Linked DNA regions of Homo sapiens: all the other regions are linked to region 1. Evidence: promoter capture Hi-C in 16 types of primary human blood cells and fetal thymus (Javierre and others, 2016). All regions are on one chromosome and are shown on one strand. Each heading gives the region's core, a stretch centred on a gene start or on the middle of the fragment in contact. The rest is flanking DNA. Distances are from core to core; before and after follow the strand shown.

Evidence for each region. The method cuts DNA at HindIII sites, captures the fragments that hold promoters and counts their contacts. A CHiCAGO score of 5 or more calls a contact.
Region 2: a contact is called between a fragment that was not itself captured here and the fragment with the promoter of ASPH in region 1, in 1 of 17 cell types (activated CD4 T cells). The highest score is 6.4, in activated CD4 T cells.
Region 3: a contact is called between a fragment that was not itself captured here and the fragment with the promoter of ASPH in region 1, in 8 of 17 cell types (M1 macrophages, activated CD4 T cells, monocytes and 5 more). The highest score is 13.1, in M1 macrophages.
Region 4: a contact is called between a fragment that was not itself captured here and the fragment with the promoter of ASPH in region 1, in 1 of 17 cell types (monocytes). The highest score is 6.7, in monocytes.
Region 5: a contact is called between a fragment that was not itself captured here and the fragment with the promoter of ASPH in region 1, in 11 of 17 cell types (naive CD8 T cells, naive CD4 T cells, total B cells and 8 more). The highest score is 15.4, in naive CD8 T cells.
Region 6: a fragment that was not itself captured here is called in contact with the fragment with the promoter of ASPH in region 1 in 1 of 17 cell types (endothelial precursors); the score reaches 6.2 in endothelial precursors.
Region 7: a fragment that was not itself captured here is called in contact with the fragment with the promoter of ASPH in region 1 in 1 of 17 cell types (total B cells); the score reaches 7.9 in total B cells.

What each region holds. Positions count from the first base shown.
Region 1 is chr8:61,713,085-61,716,476 of GRCh38, reverse strand. It overlaps ASPH (aspartate beta-hydroxylase), which reads left to right and starts at 1,885. Exons shown (of 25, transcript NM_004318.4): 1 at 1,885-2,208. The coding sequence starts at 2,106. It overlaps MIR4470 (microRNA 4470), which reads right to left and starts at 1,689; the gene lies at 1,618-1,689. RefSeq lists silencers at 1,676-2,045, 2,086-2,515. The HindIII fragment of the contact is 6,840 bases long and covers 1-3,392 here.
Region 2 is chr8:63,226,727-63,230,118 of GRCh38, reverse strand. No RefSeq gene overlaps it. Among named protein-coding and RNA genes, the nearest start is that of YTHDF3, 60 kb to the right of the region's middle. The HindIII fragment of the contact is 2,985 bases long and covers 258-3,242 here.
Region 3 is chr8:63,197,723-63,201,114 of GRCh38, reverse strand. All of the region lies in intron 4 of YTHDF3 (YTH N6-methyladenosine RNA binding protein F3), which reads right to left. Among named protein-coding and RNA genes, the nearest start is that of YTHDF3, 31 kb to the right of the region's middle. RefSeq lists an enhancer at 1,178-1,227. The HindIII fragment of the contact is 5,756 bases long and covers 1-3,392 here.
Region 4 is chr8:63,127,591-63,130,982 of GRCh38, reverse strand. No RefSeq gene overlaps it. Among named protein-coding and RNA genes, the nearest start is that of YTHDF3-DT, 39 kb to the left of the region's middle. The HindIII fragment of the contact is 4,490 bases long and covers 1-3,392 here.
Region 5 is chr8:63,107,700-63,111,091 of GRCh38, reverse strand. No RefSeq gene overlaps it. Among named protein-coding and RNA genes, the nearest start is that of TTPA, 23 kb to the right of the region's middle. The HindIII fragment of the contact is 308 bases long and covers 1,699-2,006 here.
Region 6 is chr8:63,087,449-63,090,840 of GRCh38, reverse strand. No RefSeq gene overlaps it. Among named protein-coding and RNA genes, the nearest start is that of TTPA, 3.1 kb to the right of the region's middle. The HindIII fragment of the contact is 886 bases long and covers 1,367-2,252 here.
Region 7 is chr8:63,067,127-63,070,518 of GRCh38, reverse strand. The region is part of intron 2 of TTPA (alpha tocopherol transfer protein); the gene reads left to right. Among named protein-coding and RNA genes, the nearest start is that of TTPA, 17 kb to the left of the region's middle. The HindIII fragment of the contact is 8,417 bases long and covers 1-3,392 here.

The DNA.
Region 1 (3,392 bases), core at 636-3,135:
ATCCCATTCAAATCTCAACATCAAATTGTATCTCTCAGAATTCCCATGTGTTTTGGGAAGAACCCAGAGGGAGGTAATTGAATCATGGGGGCCGGTCTTTCCTGTGCTATTCTCGTGATAGTGAATTAATTCTCATGAAACCTAATGGGTTTATTGGGGGTTTCTGCTTTTACTTCTTCCTCATTTTCTCTTGCCACCTCCATGTAAGAAGTGCCTTTCACCTCCTGCCATGATTCTGAGGCCTCCCCAGCCATGTGGAACTGTAACTCCAATTAAACCCCTTTTTCTTTCCAGTCTGGGATATGTCTTTATCTGCAGTGTGAAAACGGACTAATACAGTGACCCTACTTTGTTTTATCTCTCTGAGCTTCCAGTATCTAATTTCTTTAAAAAATTGATATGACTACAGGGTTTTGTGAGAATTTAAGGGTAAAAATATCTTTGGTGTGGGGGGTGGGGGGTGGCTAGAGCATTGTGTTTTGAAATTTAGCTCTCATTTTTATTTTATATGAAGCACCATCACTCAGATTTATTTCTTAATCCAGTTCTCCACCTCCTTCATTGAGATAATATAATAGAGGGTTGTAAGGGGGCCCTGAATGGGAGAAAGGATATATGGATGCAGAAGGAGATGCCACAAGATAAAAGCTGAGAGAGCTACTTCAATAAAAACTCTGTGAACTCTCCCCTCCCACCGTCTCTTGATAATAGCCTAACACTATTTGACAAAAGGTAAAGAAAGGCATTCTCTTTATTCTGCAACATGACCTTTGGGGGGTTTCTGTGCATCATCAGGGCAGGGTCAAGCAGCATCCAACCATCCACAGGTGAAAAGGCATGGGGCCGGGGGGAGGCGGGAGTGCTTCTGAAGGCGCGGGTGGGTGGGTTTGTGGGGCTGGAAAAGAGGAATGAAACCAGATGCCACAATGCAACTGCTCTCTCTGGTCCCTGAGCCCTCCTGAGACACTCCCAGGGGTTGCTACGAAACATGATCAAGAGCTGTGGGTTCAGCAATTGACAGAAATGTATCAAATCACTAAGCATTTCTTGCTTGCCTGTTACACATTGGGCATGGTGTTAGCAATGGTGACACAAAGATGATAAAGACGTCGCTGATCTCAAGTCCTTGTCTGGTTCAACCACGTGCCAAGACATTTTAATACTCTGTTGGGAATTCTCAGGCAGCACAGGCCCAGGCGTTAGCAAAGCAGCCAGGGATTTCAGACAGAGGGTGCCATCCAGGGTAAGAAAATGAACTTTTTGTGTCACATTTGCATTTTCATTCCTTAACTAAGAGTATCTGAAAATACTGATGGCACAAACGAACTAAATTCCTGCTTCAGCACCAAATGGATGAACTACTACGGTTTAAGCATTGAACTAGTCCTAATATCACCATTCCAGAAATGTCTTAGTATTAATCAGGACAAGAAATAGGGATCTCTTTCGCAAGAAGCGAGACTGCACTCCTTCCTTTCCTTGTATACGGAAAGGGGACAAAATCCACAGTGAAAGGCCTAGAAGCGGCGCACTCCGCCCACGGGCGGCCCACGTGTCCACCTATTCCGCACCGCGCCCTGTCCCATCCCTATGGAGCGGGGTCTGCCAACGCTCGCGAGAGCCCTCTCGGCTTCCACGTTTGCCACGTTCCAAAGGACCGAGACAAACTGGAAAGCCGAAAGAGGCTCGCGCTCACAGGCAGCTGCGTAGCGCCCGAACAGCCCTAAGTGAGCAGGGGCGGGGAGCGCGGCAGGGTACCGCCGCCTCGTAAGGGCCCTTGCGATTGGGTCCCAGGCGCCGTCACTCAGCCTTCCGGGGGCGGGGCGAGGCCGGGAAGGGGCGTGGCCGTCGGGCGGCGAGCCGCGCGCTCTCGCCCCGGGAGGGAGTCACAGGTTCGTACACGCGAGGCCGGGCGCGCGCAGCCGGCAGGCGGGTGAAGTCTTCCCAGGTGCTGCAGGCGGTGCTGAGGCACAGGGTCTGCTGCAGGAGCAGCGGCCCGAACCCGCTCCAGCGGCCCGCCGCCGCCAGCGGTTCCCGCGTCGCGTGTGTACCCCCGCGCACTGAAGGAGGTCCGCCAGCCCTCACCAGCCCCCGCGGACCGTGCAATGGCCCAGCGTAAGAATGCCAAGAGCAGCGGCAACAGCAGCAGCAGCGGCTCCGGCAGCGGTAGCACGAGTGCGGGCAGCAGCAGCCCCGGGGCCCGGAGAGGTCAGAGGCCCTGCGGGGCGGGGATCTGGGGCCTCGCCTCGGGGTAGGGAGCCGGCTGGCGCGGCGGACGCTGCGGGTGCATCTCCCCAGGTCCCACCGCGCGCCGCCTCCATCCCCCGCGACGCTCCTCCTTTAGGCGCGCGGGGCGGAGGCCGCATTCGGCGGGCCTGGCGGGCGGGCGAGGGGCCAGGCGGACCGGGGTCCGAGCCCTCGGGATGCTAGTCTCGGGGAGCCCCTTCCCAGCGGTTCCTTCACCTGCAGGGCGCAGCCGAGACAGAGGTTGCTGAACGACTGTTTCTTGGCTTTCCGTGGAATTGAACATGGGAGTAAGAGAACAATTTATCGTTTGCCTTGCGTGTTTTGGGGAGTTGAAAATGAGCCAAAGTCAGGGAAAGTGAGTTCCTGCCTAACCAGCAGCGTTTCAGAGCAACTCAAAGGAGGTGAAAATGGGGGCGCCGGGGGGCAGGGGGAGGGAAGAAGTTGGGAGTGATTTGAATGCTCTCAGAAATTATTTTAAATATTTTTGCTTGTATGTAGCTTTCTTAATATGCGTTGCAGTTGCCTTTAAAATAGAATGTCATGAAATACTGAACGAGCGTCTGTATTTTTACCACTTTTACTTAAAATAAAAATCGATTGGATATTCACCTTTCTCCTCGTCCGTGTGCATATCCAGCAGAGAGAACAGATTTTTAAATCTGTTTCGTCTCATATTTCAGTGATTCTTGGTTTCTTTTATACTTCCTTTGACTCATATTTGGGATATTGAAACTGCAATACACATGTGTATGGAATGTGAGCTGTAAACTTCACTTGAAGTGATTTAGACTCTTTGTTTTCTGAGATCTTCAGATCATGCATTCATAATATACCAAGAAAATGAATCAGCTATAGTCAAAGAAGTATTTTCTTTATAGCACTTGTCACTATCTGAACTTGTCTTATTACTTTCATGTGTGTTGTCTTTGGCTCATTCTCTCTGTATCCCCAGCTCCTAGAATGTTCCTTTCCCATAATAGGTGCTCAATAAATATTTGAGTAGTGAATGAATGAATGGATTTAAATGGGGAAAGTAGTGCATTAAATCCATTGCACAAATTTACATTCTAAGGACTAATATTTGTATTCTAAAAGTAAAGATGTAGACACAGTTTGAAGTTCAATGCAAGCATATTAATTCACCT
Region 2 (3,392 bases), core at 501-3,000, 1.5 Mb before region 1:
CCCACATGGCAAGGAACTGAGGATGGAGCCTTCAGCAAAAACCAGCAAGGAACTGAGGTCCTCTGTTCAAGAATCCCTGAGGAACAAAACCCTACCAACAATCACATAAGCTTAGAAGCAGATCCTTCCCCAGACTTTTACTGAAGGCACCAGCCTTGGTGGACACCTTGATTGCAGTCTCATGAGAGACCCACCTAAGCCATGCCTGATTCCTGACACAAAGAAACTGTGAGGTAGTAAATGTGCTATTCTAAGCTTTTAAGTTTGTATTAATTTGTTACTCAGAAATAGATAACTAATATAGGGCCTCTCTGCATAATTACATCATGCAGTGGAACTAAACTCCCAGAGGGAGAGAAATTCGTTTCATGTTTCCGTCCACCTATTGGTGGGTATGAGAATTCTCATACTCCTGTTGCAGTATCATAAATATGCATTGAAGCCCCAGCCAGGTGAATGCTACTGATCTTAATCTCTTCGTGCATAAAGGATTTTAAAAAAAGGCATTTGAAATGTCTAAGATGACATTCCAGGTGCCAACAGTTTTGATATACAATGTCTGAAATAGCAGGAATATAACAACTGAATTCAATAGTAATAATCTACCATAATGGAAACCTCTAGCTCCTATCAGCCTGTCCAGTGGGCACACTGAACTACTGTAATAAATTGCATTTGTCAATACCACTGCTGTCTTGAAGTCCTTAATTATGGTTTTGTGTTCCTTTACTCCTCCTGTAATTATATGGTGTTTTTGTTGCATAATGTGGATGGAATTGGAGGCCTAGTAAGTGCGTTCATCCCACTATCACAAGCAACTCTTCTCAATTGAAATTTATGAGCACTTACAAGTATGCAAAGTATCAATACCAACTGTGCATTCAGCAATAAGAGCAATAATGGCAGTGCCTAAGAATGCTTTAAGCAGCCCAACACAGATGATTACAGTTACTTCTCTTACATATTTCACTCCCCTTTCAAATCTGGCCAGTTGAAGCTGTGGTCCTCACCCCTCAAAAGAACCTGCTAAGATAATCATGTGAACACTGATACCCAAAAGAGCCATAAAAATTTGTATGCAGGTCGGGCACGGTGGCTCACGCCTGTAATCCCAGCACTTTGGGAGGCCGAGGCGGGCGGATCACAAGGTCAGGAGATCGAGACCATCCTGGCTAACATGGTGAAACCCCGTCTCTACTAAAAATACAAAAAAATTAGCCAGGCATGGGACCAGCCAGACGCCTGTGGTCCCAGCTACTGGGGAGGCTGAGGCAGGAGAACGGCGTGAACCCAGGAGGCGGAGCTTGCAGTGAGCAGAGATCGTGCCACTGCACTCCAGCCTGGGCGAAAGAGCGAGACTCCATCTCAAAAAAAAAAAAAAATTGTATGCCAGCTAGGCATGATGGCTCACACCTGTAATCCCAGCACTTTGGGAAGCCGAGGCCAGTGGATCACGAGGTCAGGAGTTTGAGACCAACCTGGCCAACATGGTGAAACCCCATCTCTACTAAAAACACAAAAATTAGCTGGGCATCATGGTGGGTGCCTAGGATCCCAGCTACTCGGGAGGCTGAGGCAGGAGAATCGCTTGAACCCGGGAGGTGGAGGTTGCAGTGAGCCAAGATCATGCCACCGTACTCCAGCCTGGGTGACAGAGTGAGACTCTATCTCAAAAAAAGAAAAAAACTATTGTATGCCAAATCCCTCCATCCTATCCCACTGTATCCTCAATGGAATGCAAGGTCTTCAGTAACTTCTAGGATCAGGGACCTTGTCTATCTTCCTCTCATAGGCTGTCAAATCGGGATACAGGAGCAAGGGTCAGGCAGCCTCTTGACTTCTTTTCTCCAGTAGTTGGAGGTTGATCATTTTGGAGGAATCTGATTCTAAAGAAGCACCTTCTGTTTCAAGTGGGTGGAAAACTGCCTGCTGAAGCCCACCTGCCCCCGTTAATATCTTGACCCAATTACTCCAAGTGCCAACCACATCAGTTTCTTCCTTGGGATCCATATCACCTTATCACCAGGTTCCTTTGAAGAGGGTTTGTTTTTATTCCTATCCTTCATTTTGTCTCATTTTGCAGAGATATTGCTTTGTTTACAGGGTGTGTCAATCTTTATCCTGGGTAATCAATCATTCACAGATTCTTGCACAGTGACTCTAGCTACCGACAATAAAGTTAATGTTCCCAACATTTAGGGGCAGATTTTGGTACAGAGGTCGTTTTTGGAGTTGCCATTTTGTCCATTGTCCAGACTGCCATGACAAGCCAGTCTGGAGAAGCTATAGTTCTTGTGCTGTGATACCATATTCCATAGTATTTTCTGGGATTTTTTTTTTTTTTTTTTTTTGAGACGGAGTTTCGCTCTGTCGCCCAGGCTGGAGTGCAGTGGCACGATCTCGACTCACTGCAAGCTCCGCCTCCCGGGTTCACGCCATTCTCCTGCCTCAGCCTCCCGTGTAGCTGGGACTACAGGCGCGCGCCACCATGCCCGGCTAATTTTTGTATTTTTAGTAGAGACGGGGTTTCACCGTGTTAGCCAGGATGGTCTCGATCTCCTGACCTCGTGATCCGCCCGTCTCGGCCTCCCAAAGTGCTGGGATTACAGGCGTGAGCCACCGCGCCCGGCCACTTTCTGGGATTTTATGGCCCTGAAAAAGTCTCCATGAGTTGGCCATAAGTACATCAGTACAATCAGAGGGCCATGGAAACAGAGATCCAAAGCCTTTCTTTGAAGCCTGATCCTACTCCAATTGAATAGTCTGTGTGATGGCTTGAGGCATGGAATCATATATGAGAAGGCCTAGTTGCTGCCTTTCACATCCAACAACATAACTTTCCTCACTTTCTTGTCATACAGACACACCAACCAAGTCTCTAACAGCTTCCTGCTTAGAAATATTTCCTTCAAGTTCTGCTCAAAAACTAAACTGTTTCTTCTTTAGTTCATCTCTATTTTTTCATGCGCAGCCAAAAGAAATCCATTGGTACTTTTTCTTTCACCTGAAAAATTCCTTTAGCCAAATTGTGTTAAAAGTATCTCTCCGCAACTTACCAGATATGATACTGGACAGACATTTAACTTCCTTTAGTTGGGATTTCCTCACTTCACTAATAGGAATATTGTTCCCATTCTTAACAAGCTGTTCAGGGGAGTATAGTGGATATATGCAAAGAGCTAGGACCATAAGTGTATTAGTTATATTTTCTATTTTCCATGTTTCCAACTTTCTACCAAGCTTTCTGTCATAAGTAACATGAGTCACCTTTTCTCCTAATGACAAGTTCCTTCCTGTCCTAACAGGCTTCCCTAAAATTGTCCTCGAGGCCCTTCCAGCTTCTACCTATCCCAAAGTCAAACTCTCATGTAATAGTTTACCATTAAGCCACA
Region 3 (3,392 bases), core at 379-2,878, 1.5 Mb before region 1:
CTTAAAAACTTTAAAAATGATTCCTCAATACTATCAGACTTTAGCTCCTTGAAGACAGAAATTTTCTTAATGAGCTCTATCCCTTAAGTGTCTAGCATGTTCAAAAATGCCTGCTGAATAACAATTCCTTCGACTTGTGATTCATCTTTCCAACTTTATCTCTTTTTCTGTACTGCCTCCCCTCCCTAAGTTTTGGCTATTTTCGATTACTTCAACATATCACAATACCCTAGGCTCTGAATGCCTGTCTTGACTTTATTATGAAATCCTACATATTATCATTCAAGGCCCATCTTAAAAATTCACCTTGACACCCTGAAACTCCCAATCAAAATTGTATTTGCTAGAAATAAAGATAACATGTTTTAAATTGAATAAGGCTTTAATCTAATTTTTCAGTTTACAAATAAAAATTTGAAAACCTGATAATCATAACAAACACTGCCAGACCACCATAAATTCAAATCAGGTACCATGATTTGATATAACCATATGGTCCACCCATAAAAAGGTTCAAAAGAGTTGTGGCAGGGAGTACCACAATGGTCTCTGCATTCAGGTATTCACACCCTTATAAATCCCCTCCCCTGAGTATGGCCTGGACCCAATGAGTGAATTGCTTCTAATCAACAGAATTCAGCAGATGTTCAATCCCCAGTATCTCAAATTAAAGAATAAGGAAAAAAAAAAGAAAAAAAAGAAAAAGAAATTTAAAAATTTAAAAAAAAATTCAGCCGAGGCGACAGAGTGTCACTTCTGTAATTAAGTTACAAAAGACTGTGACTTCTGTCCTGGTAGCTACTGCCTCCTCAGCTTACTCTATTGCCCTCTCAGCTTGCTCACTTTGATGAAGCAAGCCTCCTGTGGGAAAGTCCCATGTGGCAAGGAACACAGTATAGGCAGCCTCTGGCATACAGCCAAAAGGAACTGAGGCTCTTAGTCCAACAACGCTTGAGAAACTGAATTCTGCCAACAACCGTGAGTTTGGATGCAGATTTTTCACCAGCAGAGTATTCACAATGAGACCTCAAGCCCTGCCTTGACTGTAGCCTTGTGAGAGGCCCTAAAGCTGAGGACCCAGACAAGCTGTGCCCAGATTTCTGACATGCAAAAACTGTAAACTGTATGTTTTAAGCCAATGAGTTTTGGAGAAATCTATTAGACAGTCGTAAATAACTGAGACAGCAATTCACAACAGACCAAACACTATCCCTACTCATTTAATACAACAAAGGCCAAAGTACAGAGAATGGAGCTGTGATATCTTTCCCTAACTTCAACAGTATTCATGTATGAGTAGGGTAAAATACCCAGCAGATTTTTATAAATTAAAAAAAAAATGTTTAAGCCATTCCAAGAAACAGGTAAAGTCAGTTAAGCACCTCAAATGACCCTTATGGAAGAATAACTCTTATCTTCGGTAACTACAGCTCTTCATTCATGAAAAAATATTCTTTCCTTGGACACACATACCTTAAATTAAGAAACTGAATGTCACATTTAAAATAAACTATTAAACAGGAATAATTCAATAATTTATTTCTGGAAACATAAGATATTTCATATCCACCTAAGGTTAATTATATTGCTACTCAAGTTATCATGTATTTGCTGAAGAAAAAGATAAATTAAACACAGCTGACCCTTCAACAACACTGGTGTGAACTGCAGGAGTCCACTTACAACGAATTATTTCAACGAAAGAGATAAAAAAATGCAGTATTCAAGGGATGTAAAACATGCCTATATGGAGGGAGAAGCGACTGCAGAACTTGAGTATGTGCAGATTTTGGTATTTGCGGGGGTCCTGGAATAATCCCCTGTATATACCAAGAAATGACTATAAATGAAATTCTGTCCAATTTAATCACCTCACAATTATAGTATGGAAGAAGTATCTCCCAAAGATCTATGATTAACTTGATAAAGTTATCAGCATTGGAACATAACCACTATTAATAATCTGAGAAAAAATAAAAACAAATCAATATGTTAATTGAAGCACCCCCTTTCCAATTCTAACTCATAAAAAATATTTACCAAGTTCAGAATAGAGTAATACTGCAGTAAAAACTCAATCATCTTGACTATTCAAAATACCAATGTTTTTATCAAGGAATTATTTAATCAAATATGTTACATTATTTAATTAAATATGTTACATAAAAGTTTATTGTATCAAATGTGTTACATACTGGGCCCAACTTTACATTCTAGAAAAACATTCTTCAAATTTTACAAAAGTAGATTTTATATATTAAATTTGTTTCTGTTAATTATAATAAACTTTTTCATCAACAGAGAACTATAACCACAGAAAAATTTACCAAAGGGTAATAGAATACACTTCAATCCACGTTACTAAAAACTGCCAGGGAAATGTTTGCTGTTGTCATAAGTATAACTATTTTTGAAGTAATTTCTTCTATGTTAACACAAAGTTGAGTACTCTGAGATAGACCTAACATCATCTCATCTTAAAGTTATTCCAAATATGAAAAAAAATGTATCAGGCACTAAAACTTAAATCTTCAGAAATGCCCAACTTGGCCAGGCACGGTGGCTCAAGTCTGTAATCCCAGCACTTTGGAAGGCAGAGGTGGGCAGATGACCTGAGGTCAGGAGTTTGAGACCAGCCTGGCCAACATGGTGAAACCCCATCTCTACTAAAAATACAAAAATTAGCCAGCCATGGTGGCGCACACCTGTAGTCCTGGCTACTCGGGAGGCTGAGGCATGAGAATCGTTTGAATCCCGAAGGTGGAGACTGCAGTGAGCCCAGATTGTGCCACTGCACTCCAGCCTGGGCAACAGAGCAAGGCTCTGGAAAGAAAAGAAAGAGAAGGGAAGGTGGGGGAGTGGGGAGGGAAAAGGAAAGGAAAGGAAAAGAAAAGAAAGAAGAGAAAACAAAGAAATGGCCAACTATGTAACAGCATAAAGAACTAAAATACACACAAAATTCTAGAGATTTTATTATAATTATGCCTTGCTTATTTCTGCATAAACGGCAGGGCTCCATCTCTTTCTGGAGGAACAGGTAATGCCATGATTTGAAAGTTTATCTCAATGTTATAGGCAATTGAAAACTCTTAATTATTCCTATGTGGAATTAAAAAAGCAACTGAACCAAAAATAGTCTTGGATTATGTTTCCTGACTAATGAAGATTTACAAGAATGAAGGAATACAGGGGGATTTAAATGACTCACATTCACTACAACAATGGAAAAATTTCAAAAGAAAGAATCACCTCAATAGTCAAAAGTAGATTCTACTGCTATGCAGACTATTTGAATTTATACTGGACAAATATACTCAGGATTTTTATTAGTTCTTTTTCTTTTCCCTTCTATTATTCAGTTCCTCTGAGGGGTTGCCATTATAAATTTAAAT
Region 4 (3,392 bases), core at 491-2,990, 1.4 Mb before region 1:
TCAAACTTGGCCCAGATAAACTCTCTACGTTAATTTTGCCTCAGCTTCTTCCTTTTAAGTTGACAAACTATATACTTTATTGTCTGTATTCTTTCTTACAGCTTATATGAATCTACAATTATCTCAAATGACATTAATTTTAAATAAATAAGTAGTCACATCTCTCTTAAAAAGTAGGGCAGATATGAAAAAAATATGACATTAAATGAGAATGTGTAAAATGTTATATTTTATTTTACACATACAGACACACACACACACACACACATTTTTGAGACAGGATCTCCCTCTGTCACCCTTGCTGGACTGCAATGATGTGATCATAGCTCACCGTAGCCTCTACCTTCCAGGGCTCAGGTGATCCTCCCATCTCAGCGTCTCAAGTAGTTGGGATTATAGGCTTGCACCACCATGCCCAGTTAATTTTTGTATTTTTTGGTAGAGACGGGGTTTCACCATGTTGCCCAGGCTGGTCTTGAACTACTGGACTCAAGTGATCTACCCGCCTTGGCTTTCCAAAGTGCTGAGATTACAGTTGTGAACCACCATGCAGAGCCTATTTCACTATATTTTTGAAGAATGTTTAATGTTATTTAAAACAATTTAACTTTATATGAAAAGAAATCTAATCAGAATGATTCCAATCTTTTAATTTATACATAAAAAGACTGAGAAAAAATAAAATGTTAATTCGGTATTAATTTACATGGTTATTTTCTCCTCCTTGTAACTTTTCCAGATTTCAGATTTTCTATTCTTATAATTTAAAAAATTTAACAGGAATTTAACGTATAAAGTAGATAAGGTTGAAATGATACAATGTCTGGGATTTGTGTCAAATGCAAGGAGGAGAGAAGGAATTAGATGGTTAAAGAGAAAAACAAGTTTGGGTGAGTTGGTAATTTTTGAGGCTGGGTGATGATAGGTCCCCAGGGTTTCCTTTCTATTCTCTTTACTTATCTATTTGAAATTTTTCATAATAAAAATTTTTTAAAGAATTAGCTTATACAAGCAAACGTACAGTCAATTTTTTCTTATCCACAGTAGTTCTATAAAGTCATCTCAAACATTGAATTAGACATTACAGAGCCATTGCTCCTGGGCATAACATAGGGTTAGGTTCCCTCAAGCCCCTGGTCACAACATTCTCATCAGGGGATAACCAGGTAACCTTGTTTTATTCCTGTTTCTGTTTAAAGACACCTTATTTAATATAAACTATTGATTCATTAACACTGAACTCATGGCCAAAGCGCTATAACTGCTGCCTGAAGGAAGTTTCTTTAACATACTTAATTTTCTTCATAAGACACATTACAGCTTCTTCAATTAGGAACACTGGACAGCACTTCAGAACTACACTTGGGAGCCATTTCAGACAACAAAATCACCAAGAAAAAGTACACAAATGTAAAAAATGTGGCACTATGAAGATCACAAAAAAGAAACTTGTTTACTGTGTAAGAACTAAAAGAAGGCGGCGGAGTATCACCTGGTTTGAGTTCAGCTGGGAAAATGGGCCTCCTCCAGCAATGCAATTTTTTTTTTTTCTGTTCTGTGCACGTGTATGTCTGTGACTATGAAAGCACTGGAGTGTTGATTTGGGGGTTACAAATTTTTTTTTTTTACAGATGGGGGGTTGGGGGGTTCGCCATGTTGGTCACGCTGGTCTCGAACTCCTGGCATCAAGTGATCTGCCCGCCTCGGCTTCCCAAGGTGCTGGGATTACAGGTGTGAGGGAGCATGCCTGGCATACAAATAAATTTTAATGAGTGGACATATTTGCAAATACAGAATCTGAAAATAATGAAGATTGACTGTATTTAAAGTAACAAGCATAGTGATTGACACATTGTGATAACTAAGTGTTCCTTCTTGTTGATATAGACTATGATACTGAATTATTAAACAAAATTTTACAGGAGTATTGTAGTTCTCTAAGTTAAATATATTAGAAAGCAATGTATAGATTAAACAGATATGTCATTTGTAGCTGATTAAAAGTGGTGGTTGGGTCATAATCTAGCCTATGAGAAAATCAGCTTTAACATGAATGTTTTAAAATTAAAGTTTTTTGGCCGGACATGGTGGTACACGCCTGTAATCCCAGCTACTTGGGAGGCTGAGGCTGGAGAATCGCTTGAAGCCAGGAGGTGGAGGGTGCAGTGAGCCGAGATCAAGCCACTGCACTCCAGCCTGGGTGACAGAGTGAGACCCTATCTCAAATAAATAAATAAAGTAACAAAATAAACAGAAATAATAACCAAATGCTGTATTGGACAAACCATGAGTCCAGAATTCTATAAGAGGCAGTGAAAAATACTGAGAATGCATGGATTTTTCACTTGTATATCTTACTTTGAATCCTGGCCAAGGTACACAATAGCTGTATGGCTTTAAGTAAGTTAGTTAATGCTTCCTTGGTTTCCTTACTTCAATGTTTTACTTTTAAATTATTTATTTATTTGTTTTTAAGAGAAAGGGTCTCTCTCTGTTGCCCAGGCTGGAATTCAGGGGTGCAACCACAGCTCACTATAACCTCAAACCCCTGGCCTTAAGAGATCCTCCTGCCTCAGCCTCCCAAAGTGCTGGGATTACAGTCCTGAGCCGCAGCAACAGGCCAGTTTCTTAATTTAAAAAATGGAATCATGGTGCCCATCTCACAGGGTTGCTCTGAATCTTGCGCCCAGTGCCTGAGGCCCAGCGGGGACTCACCCAATGCTAGTTCTCTCTGATGCCTGGGGATGTGCTATAAAACAGCAGAGTAATTGCACTTTACCACATTCACACACTTAAAATTAGCAAATAGTCTTAAATTCATCTTTAGAAACCCATCACGAATATTTCATTCAGGAGTTACAATTATACTTATGAAGCAGGAGACTGATTTTGCAATATTTATCGGTCTCTATCCAAACCCCCTCTTCTCTTTTCTCCCTTTTCCTTTTGCTTCTTGATCCTTTTTCCATATTTAAGCAGCAGCTGGACTCTTAGGTTTACACTCATGGAAAGGATGTGGCTACAGAAAAAATAAAAAGGTTAGGGGGAGTCTCTTCTTGGCTTTTGAGTTTTAAAAGCAGAGACCTACAGATAAAAAGAAACTGAAGAATAGACAGAAGAGTTGGAGGATATCAGAAAGAATACAGCTCTTCCTCTTCCATGTCCCTATACACCCTTTGCAAACAAGAATCCCCAAGGTTGAGAGGAGTTTGGAAAGTCTGAGAGGAGGGTCGTGGGAGGGCCCGAGAGAAACAAATTGCCCCTGCTGAGCTCCAGAAAGAACTACCCCATGTGGGGGCGAGAGGTCCATACCACTTCCTTACTTCCCAGGTGGACTCCAGCAATGCGCCCAGACTCACTGGAAGCAGCTGTGAAGTGTGTCTGTGCAGGTG
Region 5 (3,392 bases), core at 603-3,102, 1.4 Mb before region 1:
AAGTCTAGAGCTGATTTAATGCAACACCTATAAGGTGACATCTATCAATTATTATGGAAAATTAATTGACTTATGCTACATGACAAAACAAGCAATGATCTATTAAAAACACTTAAGGCCGGGCGCGGTGGCTCACGCCTGTAATCCCAGCACTTTGGGAGGCCGAGGCGGGCAGATCAAGCGGTCAGGAGATCGAAACCATAGTGGCTAACACGGTGAAACCCCGTCTCTACTAAAAATACAAAAAAATTAGCCGGGCGTGGTGGCGGGCGCCTGTAGTCCCAGCTACTCTGGAGGCTGAGGCTGGAGAATGGCATGAATCCAGGAGGCGGAGCTTGCAGTGAGCCGAGATAGCACCACTGCACTCCAGCCTGGGCGACAGAGGGAGACTCCGTTTCAAAAAAAAAAAAAAAAAAAATTAAAAGACATAATTCTGATCCTTATAACTGTGAGGTCCTTGGAAATAACAGGTGGTACCTGGACCGTACTTTGTGAGCCATTAATTTACAATATAGAACTTTAAGAAATTTGGATAAGTAATTTTCCAATTACCAGTAGTTCTCAACTTTCAGGTATTCAGCTGAAGTAATAAAAAATTATGGCACACTTCTGATCACATGCACTTATGTGGCATTACCTATGGTATTTAGAGCAGTCTGCAAAAACTGTAACTTACAATCTTCTCCCTCGTGCTGTGGCCCAGAGGTCCTTTATCAGTGAGGCTCAGTAAGTTTCCCCCTTTACTGTATGTTTGTTCCCCAGTGACCTCTCTGGCTCATGACTGCAGATATCACAAAATTACCTCATTGTAATATATGGTCTTCAGCTTTTTTCCTGGTTGTACCATCAATAAATGCAGGTTAATTTTAATGGAATTAGTTGTAATTTTATGTCATTACACTGATTTAACAACTAAAGAATGTGAAAGTTTATTACTTGTGAATAAATTTATAGAGTATCTATAAAAGGTTTTTGTGGCTGACTGAATAATGGTTCCCAAACATATGAAGGAATTTCAAAAAGTTTATGGAAAAATGGAGTTAAAAGATAAAAATAAAATGATAAACTTTATTTCTCAACATAACTTCCATCAAGGTCAAGATACTTTTTTGTAAGCAATGATACCAGCTGTTTAGTCCCTTCCTAAAGAACTGAAAATCCTGGGAATTTAACCATGTGAATGTAGTCTTTTTTATATTACTAACAGACATGAGCTCTCTTTAAAGATTTTTTAAGATTAGGAAACAAAAAGAAGTTGAAAGGAGTGAAATCAGCACTGTAAGGTAAATACCTAATGATTTCCCATCAAAACTCTCACAAAGTTCCCCTTGTTTGATGAGAGCAATGAGCAGGAGCATTGTCGTGGTGGTGAAGAACACTCTGATAAAGTTTTCTTCCATGTTTTTCTGCTAAAGTTTTGGCTAAATTTCTCAAAAACGCTCTCATTATAAGCAGATGTTATTGCTCTTCAGCCCTCCAGAAAATCAACAGGTAAAATGCTTTGAGCATCCTGATACACTGTTACCATGACTTTTACTCTTGACTAGATAGACCCTTCCACCTCTTGGTAGCCATTGCTTTGATTGTGCTTTGTCTTCAGGGTCATACTGGTAAAGCCATGTTTCACCTCCTGTTACAATTCTTTGAAGAAATCCTTCAGGATCTTGATCCCACTTGGTTAAAATTTCCATTGAAGCTTGTTCTTGTCTGCAGCTGATCTGCATGCAATGGTTTTGGCTTCCATTGACTGGAAAGTTTGTTCAAATTTGTTTCTTCAGTCAGAATTGTGTGAATGAAATCAATTGAGATGTCTATAGTGTTGGCTATTGTTTGTGCTGTTGTCACTTCTCTTGAATTAAGGCATGAACAAGATACATTTTTTTCCCGACAAATTGATGTGGATGGTCTGCCATTCAGGGCTTCATCTTCAACATTGTCTTGTCCCTTCTTAAAACAAATATCCAATTGTAACCTCTGATTCCTTTGAGGCACTGTCCCTGTAAGCTTTTTGTAAAGCATTAATGATTTCGTCTTCTCTCACCTAAGCTTCACCACAAATTTTATGTTTGTTCTTGTGTTAATTTTAGCAGAATTCGTGTTGCTGTGATAGGGGCTTTTCTCAAACTGATGTCTTATCCTTTTTAGTGCCTTAAACTAGATTCTGTTTAGACATGTTGTAATAAGTTAGTACGAGCTTATTTTGGTGCAAAAAAACTTAAAGTCCATGCATAGTTTTTTCATAATATGTATTTTCTGTGAGTTTTTTGAAGACCTCTCCTATTTATGTCTTATGCCCTGGAACTTGTAAATGTTACCTTATAAGGCAAAAGACACTTTACAGATATGATTAAATCAGGGATCTTGAGATGGAGAGACTATCCTGATTATCTAGGTGTGCCTGATGTAATTACAGAACTCATTATAAGAGAGATACATGAGGAATCAAAAGTTAGAGAAGAAGGTGATGTGATGAAGAAGTAGATGAGTAGTGATGACATACTTTGAAGATGGAGGAAGAAGCCACAAGCTAAAGAATACAGGCTAGGCTGGGTGCAGTGGCTCATGCCTATAATCCCAGCACTTTGGGAGGCCGAGGTAGGTGGATCACTTGAGGTCAGGAGTTCAAGACCAGCCTGGCTAACATGGTGAAACCCCGTCTCTACTAAAAATACAAAAATTAGCCGGGTGTTGTTGTGGGTGCCTGTAATCCCAGTTACTCGGGAGACTGAGGCATGAGAATCACTTGGACCCGAGACGTGAAGGTTGCAGGGAGCCAAGATTGTGCCACTGCACACCAGCCTGAGTGATAGAGCAAGACTCAGTCTCAAAAAAAGAATACAGGCTAGAAGCAGAAAAATGCAAGAAGATGAATTCTCCTTTAAGATCCTCCAGAAAAAACCCACACCTTGTAAACATCTCAACTATAACTATGTAAAACTGATTTTGAACTTCCAGCCTCCAAAATTGTAAGATAATATATTTGTGTTGTCTTTTAGAAACAGGGTCTCACTGTGTTGCCCAGCCTGGAGTGCAGTGGCTATTTACAGGCCTGATCATAGCACACTACATCCTCAAACACTTGGGCCCAAACAATCCTCCTACCTCAGCTTCCTGAGTAGGTGGGACTACAGGCACATGCCACTGCACCTGGCTAAATTTGTGTTATTTTAAGTTACTAAATTTGTGGCAATTTGTTACAATAGCAACAGGAAATTAATATAGTTGCATACTAGATCCTTATATCCATTAATGTAACACTGCTGCATCTATTTCAGATTCATAACTTGCCAATTTTGTTGAAATATAAAAATTGTGATTCATTGGAAATATATGGTCTACTTTTGGTAGATTTATTAACTAATTTGATTTTACTGGAAGAAGGTTTATCAACA
Region 6 (3,392 bases), core at 560-3,059, 1.4 Mb before region 1:
TTGCCAAAGTAAGATTTAATCTAAATCTAACCAATCCTCTAGATCTAACTATTCTTTACCAGAAACGCAGGGAAAAGAAAAACAATGTAATGATGCCAGTAAGAAGCAATCAGAAAAATCCAGAAGATGGTAAATGCTGAACAAAATTGACCCGGTTATACCGACAAATTAATAGCATTTAAAAAAGAGAGAGGCTATTCTTGACACTTATGCACAGCAACCAAATGCACTGTATGAACTGTATGTGGATCCTAATTTGAAGAACTTAAACGAGATATTTTTGAGATAATCAGGGAATTTTGAATACAGAGTGGGTACTAGATAATACTGGGGAATTGTTGCTAATTTTTTAAGTGTGAAAAATGGTATCGTGGTGATGTAAAAAATTTATTTTGTAGTATTTACAAGAGTATGATATTTAAAATAGTATGATATGTGGGTATGTCTTTAAAATATTTCAGCTTATTAAAAAAGTAGGGGAGGTGGATAAAACAAGATTGGCAAAATATCATTGATTGCTGAAGCAGACTGTATATTGGTATTCATTACTATTATTTTTACATATGGTTGAAATGTTCTGTGGTAAATATTATTTTATAAATTTTACATAGAGTTTCCCAAGTGATGTGGGGTAATATTTCTGCTTCAATGGAAAATTATGCATTACATAGACTCTAGATGGCACCTCCTGCATTATTTGATTCTCATTCTATCGAAGCTATTTTACAATTCTGTGAACTGTAGATAACTGATAGCAATGGCAAATAATTCTTGTCTAATAACATGCTAATTCTGAACTGCCTGGAGGAGTTTTGATTGACCTCTCTCCCTCACTGTGAAAGAAGTTAGTTTTGCCTCCATTTGCACATCCCTTTCAACATCCTTTACTCCATGTAAATGTGTGCTTTTTTTTTTAACTTATTTGAACTTGCAATAACATGTGTCTACTTTCCTCCTTACCAGTTGAATAAAATCTTTAACACTTGTTCAGTTTTATATATGTATAAGTGTCATAATTTTATCTCTTTTTGAAAATGTTATCTTTTAACAGTGAAAAATATTTGTCTTTTCTGTGAAGCTGAAAGTAAAATAAATTGGTATACTTATGAATTATTATGCTAATAAATAACTAAATGTTAAATAATTTCAGAGTAAATTGTAAGGTAGCTACAAAAGTCAACTAACTTTTCATTCCAGTTTTGCTTTTATTTCCTCATACCATTAGTTCCAGAAATCCCTTTGGACTCTTTCAGCCAGAGGCCTGGATGCATTTTCGGTAAACACAAGAGCTCACCAGAGTAAAATATGAGCATAGAAAATTTGAAAACATTTCAAAACAAAAATTGAGTAACAGCTCTTGAAAGCTTGTGCCAAGAATTCTAAAATTTTTATATAAATCCAAGATAACATTGTTGAAAGACAGAAGCACGATCTGTATAATTTAACCCCAAAGTAATCAAGTTGTAGTGTAAAATTCTCACCTTTTATGTCTGCCCCATCAATTCTTCAACTTTTTTCTCTCTTTCCCATAGTCGTGCAATCTTTTCTACCACTGGGCTAACTGCTGACATTGGCATTGCTTCCCACTTGAGTTATAGATATCCACCGCTCCCTCTGCCACCTCTTAGGTATTTAGGAGCCACCTCTCACCACCATCTGGGCTCCATGTTGGCTTCATTTTCACTGAGTTTAATGGCAATCAATCAGTCAATCTTATTGATTTCTTAGAAGAGTTTCACAGATGCAGAAATAACAGATTTATCAGTTCTAAAAAGGGACACTAGGCCAGGCACAGTGGCTGACACCTGAAATCCCAGCACTTTGGGAGGCTGAGGCGGGCTGATCACGAAGTCAAGAGATAGAGACCATCCTGGCCAACATGGTAAAACCCCATCTCTACTAAAAATACAAAAATTAGCTAGGCATGGCAGTGTGCGACTGTGGTCCCAGCTACTCAGGAGGCTGAAGTAGGAGAATCTATTGAACCCTGGAGGCGGAGGTTGCAGTGAACTGAGATTGCATCACTTCACTCCAGCCTGGCAATAGAGCAAGACTCCGTCTCAAAAAAAAAAAAGGGATACTACAATGAAGGAAACCAAAAATATGCCATTCACAATATACTCCTTTGGTCTATTTTGAGATGGCTATTCAGAGGGACTGCCAGCACAAGAATAGCCCTGAAAAGCTGTCTTTTATAGGGGAGATTTGTATCTGTAGAGAAAATCCATATAGGTGAAATAAACATCCAAGCTTTCTCTGAGGCTCCCCTTCTCTGGATCTAGGAAAGATTAACTTTTGGGAAAAAGGGACTAAAAGTTGGACACCTTAAAGGTCCACTAGGGAAACTGTTACTACAGGCTCCTGTCTTATTCTTTCTGAGAGCTCCTCCCTGGAGGATTTTATCTGCAAAACTAGGTAGGCTCTATGCCATGCTTTCCCCCTCACTTTCCCATAACCCGTGTCTCCATCTCTCCTCGAGAAGCCCCAAGCCCCTATTCTTTCTGTAACCTCAGGATGGTATAAAACTTCATTATCTGGCCCCTTCTTTAAGTCTCATACTTTGTGTATGACTCCCTTGTTTACACACGTTAATATACGCATGTGCCTTTTTCCCATTCGTCTGTCTACTGTCAGTTTGTTTTATAGACTAAAATCATGGAACTTACAGAGGGGAAGAGACATTCTCTTTGCACCTTCAATGGCTATAGCTAGATAATGTCCCCGATCTCTCACTGAACTTTCTGCCCAATTTCAAAAAAGTGGATGCTAATTACTAAAAACAAGTAGGAGAGAGCATTGAAAAAAATCTTTTGGAAGGGAGGAAAACATGCTCTATAGGCCCTCTCTTATTATTTTTAGACACTTAAAACTTCTAGAGAAGAAAGGCTACCATTGTCTTTTAATTCTTCGGAGCTTCCAGAAAGGCCTTGCACAGTCAGCCCCTCTTGACTAGTACTTTCTTCCTTCCCCCTCTCTCCTTTGGTTGGCAAACATTCCCAGTGCATTCACTAAGGCCGTGCAAACAGCCCCTTTGTGAGGCCTTTCCAAATCTCTTAGGCAGTGTCGGTAGTGTTCCTCTGTGTTCTCACACCATGGTCTCCAAACCTGTTTTGTACACTTGTCACATTGACTTGTAAACCTTTACTCAAATAGCTTCCGTCTCACTCTGAGTATAAGCCAAAGCTAGGAATCTTTTGTCCCCAGGTATAGTTGCTTTCTGGTTGGATTGGGATTATTTACTCTAATGCTTCCCATCTCCCTCAGAACAGAAGCCAAAGCCCACAGCCTTCCAGTCCCAGATACCCCTGGGCCAAGCTCGCTCACCTCACTCAGGTGTTTATTCCAACGTCACTGTAGGTGCTGCCCACTTTTTGGCTTCGTTTCCCCATAGC
Region 7 (3,392 bases), core at 658-3,157, 1.4 Mb before region 1:
AGGATGAAAGGGAGAAACTCAGAAAGTTTTATGAGTAAAATGAAAACTTTTCTAAATTTGATTGAATTAATGGGAGGAGCTAAAGAAGGAAATCTGTGGTGGAACTTTTCGGTAGAACTTTAGCATAACCACCTTCTCTAGATACCATCTCTGTGCAGTAAAAGCAATGAGAAAATGCACACAGCCCTTTCCTCCATGCGGGCCGGGCAACCCAAGGTGAAGCTAAGTTTTGACCTTTATCAGCCAACATGCTGTAGGATATAATTTTATGTTTTTTGAGATCCCATAGTATACTACTAGCAGCAAAAGTAAAATTTAACAGTGAGTGTGAAGTTTTGACTGTGGCTTAGTTCTTGTGAATACAGGTTCTGGAGCATGTGACCTGGATTGGAATCTCAGCTCTGCTACATTCTAGCTGTGTGAAACACTATGTAGCTGTAACTGCATTTTCTCATCTGTAAAATGGGCACATTGAAAAGCTGTCACATAGGGTTGCTGTAAGCATTAAATCAATCTATCAGTCTGTCTATCTAAAATATAACAAGAGCATTACCTGGTACATAAAAGCACTCAATACATATTAAGTAGATACTGGAGAAGGAATTCAAAATATAAGGTATATTTTTCTTTTGCCTCAATGGAGCTTAAATTCTAGCCAGCACTGTACCATAGAACTTTCTATGATGATGAAACTGTTCTACAATAGACACTATTCTCATGTGGCTATTGAGCACTTGAAATGTGACTACTGCAACTAAGAAACAGATTTTTTTTTTTTTTTTCTAAGCTAGGGTCTTACTCTGCCATCTGGGCTAGAGTGCAGTGGCACAATCATAGCTCACTGCAGTCTTGAACTCCTGGGCTCAAGTGATCCTCCCACTTCGGCTTTTGGAGTAGCTGGGACTAGAGGCATGTGCTACCACACTCAGCCAGTTTTTTTATTATTTTTATTTTTTAGAGATGCATTCTCACTATGTTGCCCAGGATGGTCTCACTCCTGGCCTCAAGCAATCCTCCCCCATCAGACCCACAAAGTGCTGGGATTCTAGGCATGAACCACTGCACCTGGTGAAACTAAATCTTTAATTTAAATTTGAATGACCACACATGGCTAATGGCTACCATATTAGCCAGTGTAGGCCAAACAATTATGTTGGTTGGCTCAGAACTTAGGACATAAACTATTTTTTTGATTGGCAAACTTCATATGTTCTTTTTTTTTTTTTTAATCATTATAGCATTCAGCCAATGTCTGAAGTTAGTATAGTATTTTTGATCTGGGTTATCCATGGGTTGATTGTTCAAATTCTTATGAGAAATCTGAGGCTTGTTTTTTTGTTTTGTTTTGTTTTGTTTTGTTTTTTTGAGACAGAGTCTTGTTCTGTTGCCCAGGCTGGAGAGCAGTGGGCCATCTCGACTCACTACAACCTCTGCCTCCCGAGTTCAAGCGATTCTCCTGCCTCAGCTTCCCAAGTAGCTGGGACTACAGGTGTGTGTCACTATGCCCAGCTAATTTTTGTATTGTTAGTAGAGATGAAGTTTCACCATGCTGGCCAGGCTGGTCTTGAACTCCTGGCCTCAAGTGATCTGTCCACCTTGGCCTCCCAAAGTGCTGGGATCACAGGTGTGAGCCACCATGCCCGGCCAGAAATCTGAGGCTTTTAAAAAACACTAACACACCTCCTGAAGGATCCATTAATATGACAGAAAATAAAAATTTTTAAAAAATAGCAATCCCATTGTGGCTTCTTAGGAATATTTCTGTTTATTCTTTCTTTTTCTAGATCTTCAACTTTTCTCTTGCTACTACATGCTACCAGTTAACATTTAAATCAGTTAAGGGCCAGCCACTAAAAACAAAACAAAAACTCCTCATTCGTTCCACAAAACTCTCCCTCCTTCATTACATCTATCTCCCCTCTCTTTGTTAGTGATGTCCACCATCCACATTTTCTCACAGTTCCTCCTCAGCCCACCCTAGTTTGATTTCACTCCCATCCCTGCTGAAATGAATGTAACCAACCATTATTGACTTTCTTTTTACCACATTTAATGGACATATTTAGTCCTATTTCACTTAACCTCTCAACAAAGTGAATCACTTCTGCTTTCTTGAAAAATCCTCTTCCCTTGGCTTCTCTGATGCCATGTTCTCTTGGTGTTTTTCTCTGACATCACTGGCTGCTCCTCCTTAATCTCTTTTTCTGGCATTTCCTCTTCTACTCATCCTTTAAACTCTGAATTTTTTTAGGACATTGGCCTCAGCCTTTTCTTTTTATGTTACTTCATCTCTCTGCTTTGATAGAGAAAAACATAGCTCTGAGACAATCCCTGTTGTGGATCATCATGTAGGCACAAACAGCCCCCAGATTTGTATCTTCACTCCCATCTTTTCCTTGAGGATCCAGACCCACACAACTAGCTGCTATTCCAGCTGCACCCAGTTGGATGTCTCATGGTCACCATTTTAACATGTCCATACTTATAATCTTTTCCACCCAAACAGGTCTCTTATCTCAATAAATGGTACTGCGTGTACACCATGGAGTACTACACAGCCATAAAACGAATGACATTATGTCCTTTGCAGCAACAGGGATGCAGCTGGAGGCCATTATCTTAAGTGAATTAAAACAGGAACAGAAAACGAAATACCACATGTTCTCACTTATAAGTAGGAGCTAAACACTGGGTGTTTATGACATAAAGATGGGAACAGTAGACACTGGAGATGACAAGAGAGGAGAGGGAGGGAGGGGAGCAAGCGTTGAAAAACTTCCTATTGGGTACTGTGCTCACATACCTGGGTGACAAGATCATTTATACCTGAAACCTCAGCATCATGCAGTATACCAAGGTAACAAATCTGCACATGCACCCCCTGAATCTAAAATAAAAGTTGAAAATAAATAAATAAATGGTGCCACAATTCTATCCAGTTTCCCATGCCAGAACTTTTGTTGTTTTTTTTTTTTTTTGAAAATTTACTATTGCTTAGTTATGATTTTTTTTTCTTTTTCGTTCATCCTGTTAGGCACTTCAGTCTGAAGACTTACATGTTTTTTTTTTCAGCTTTGGAGAACTTTTCTCTATTGCTATGATTCCTCTCTCCTCTGTTTTCTGTTACTGCCTTCTAGAACTTTTATTAGTTGGATGTTGAAACTCCTGGATCCAGCTGCATGTATTTCTTACCTTTCTATTCATACATGTCAACTCTTGGCTCTTTTGTGCCAAATTTGAGAGAATTCTTCAACTTGATCTTCCAAACCATTTTTCCTCGATTGGCTCTGTCTTTTCCAGCATTTATCTTATCAATGAATGTTTTTTAAAAAACTTATCTTTTTATTTCTAATATCTCAATGGAGTCTTTTTAATAATAGCCTGTTTTTATA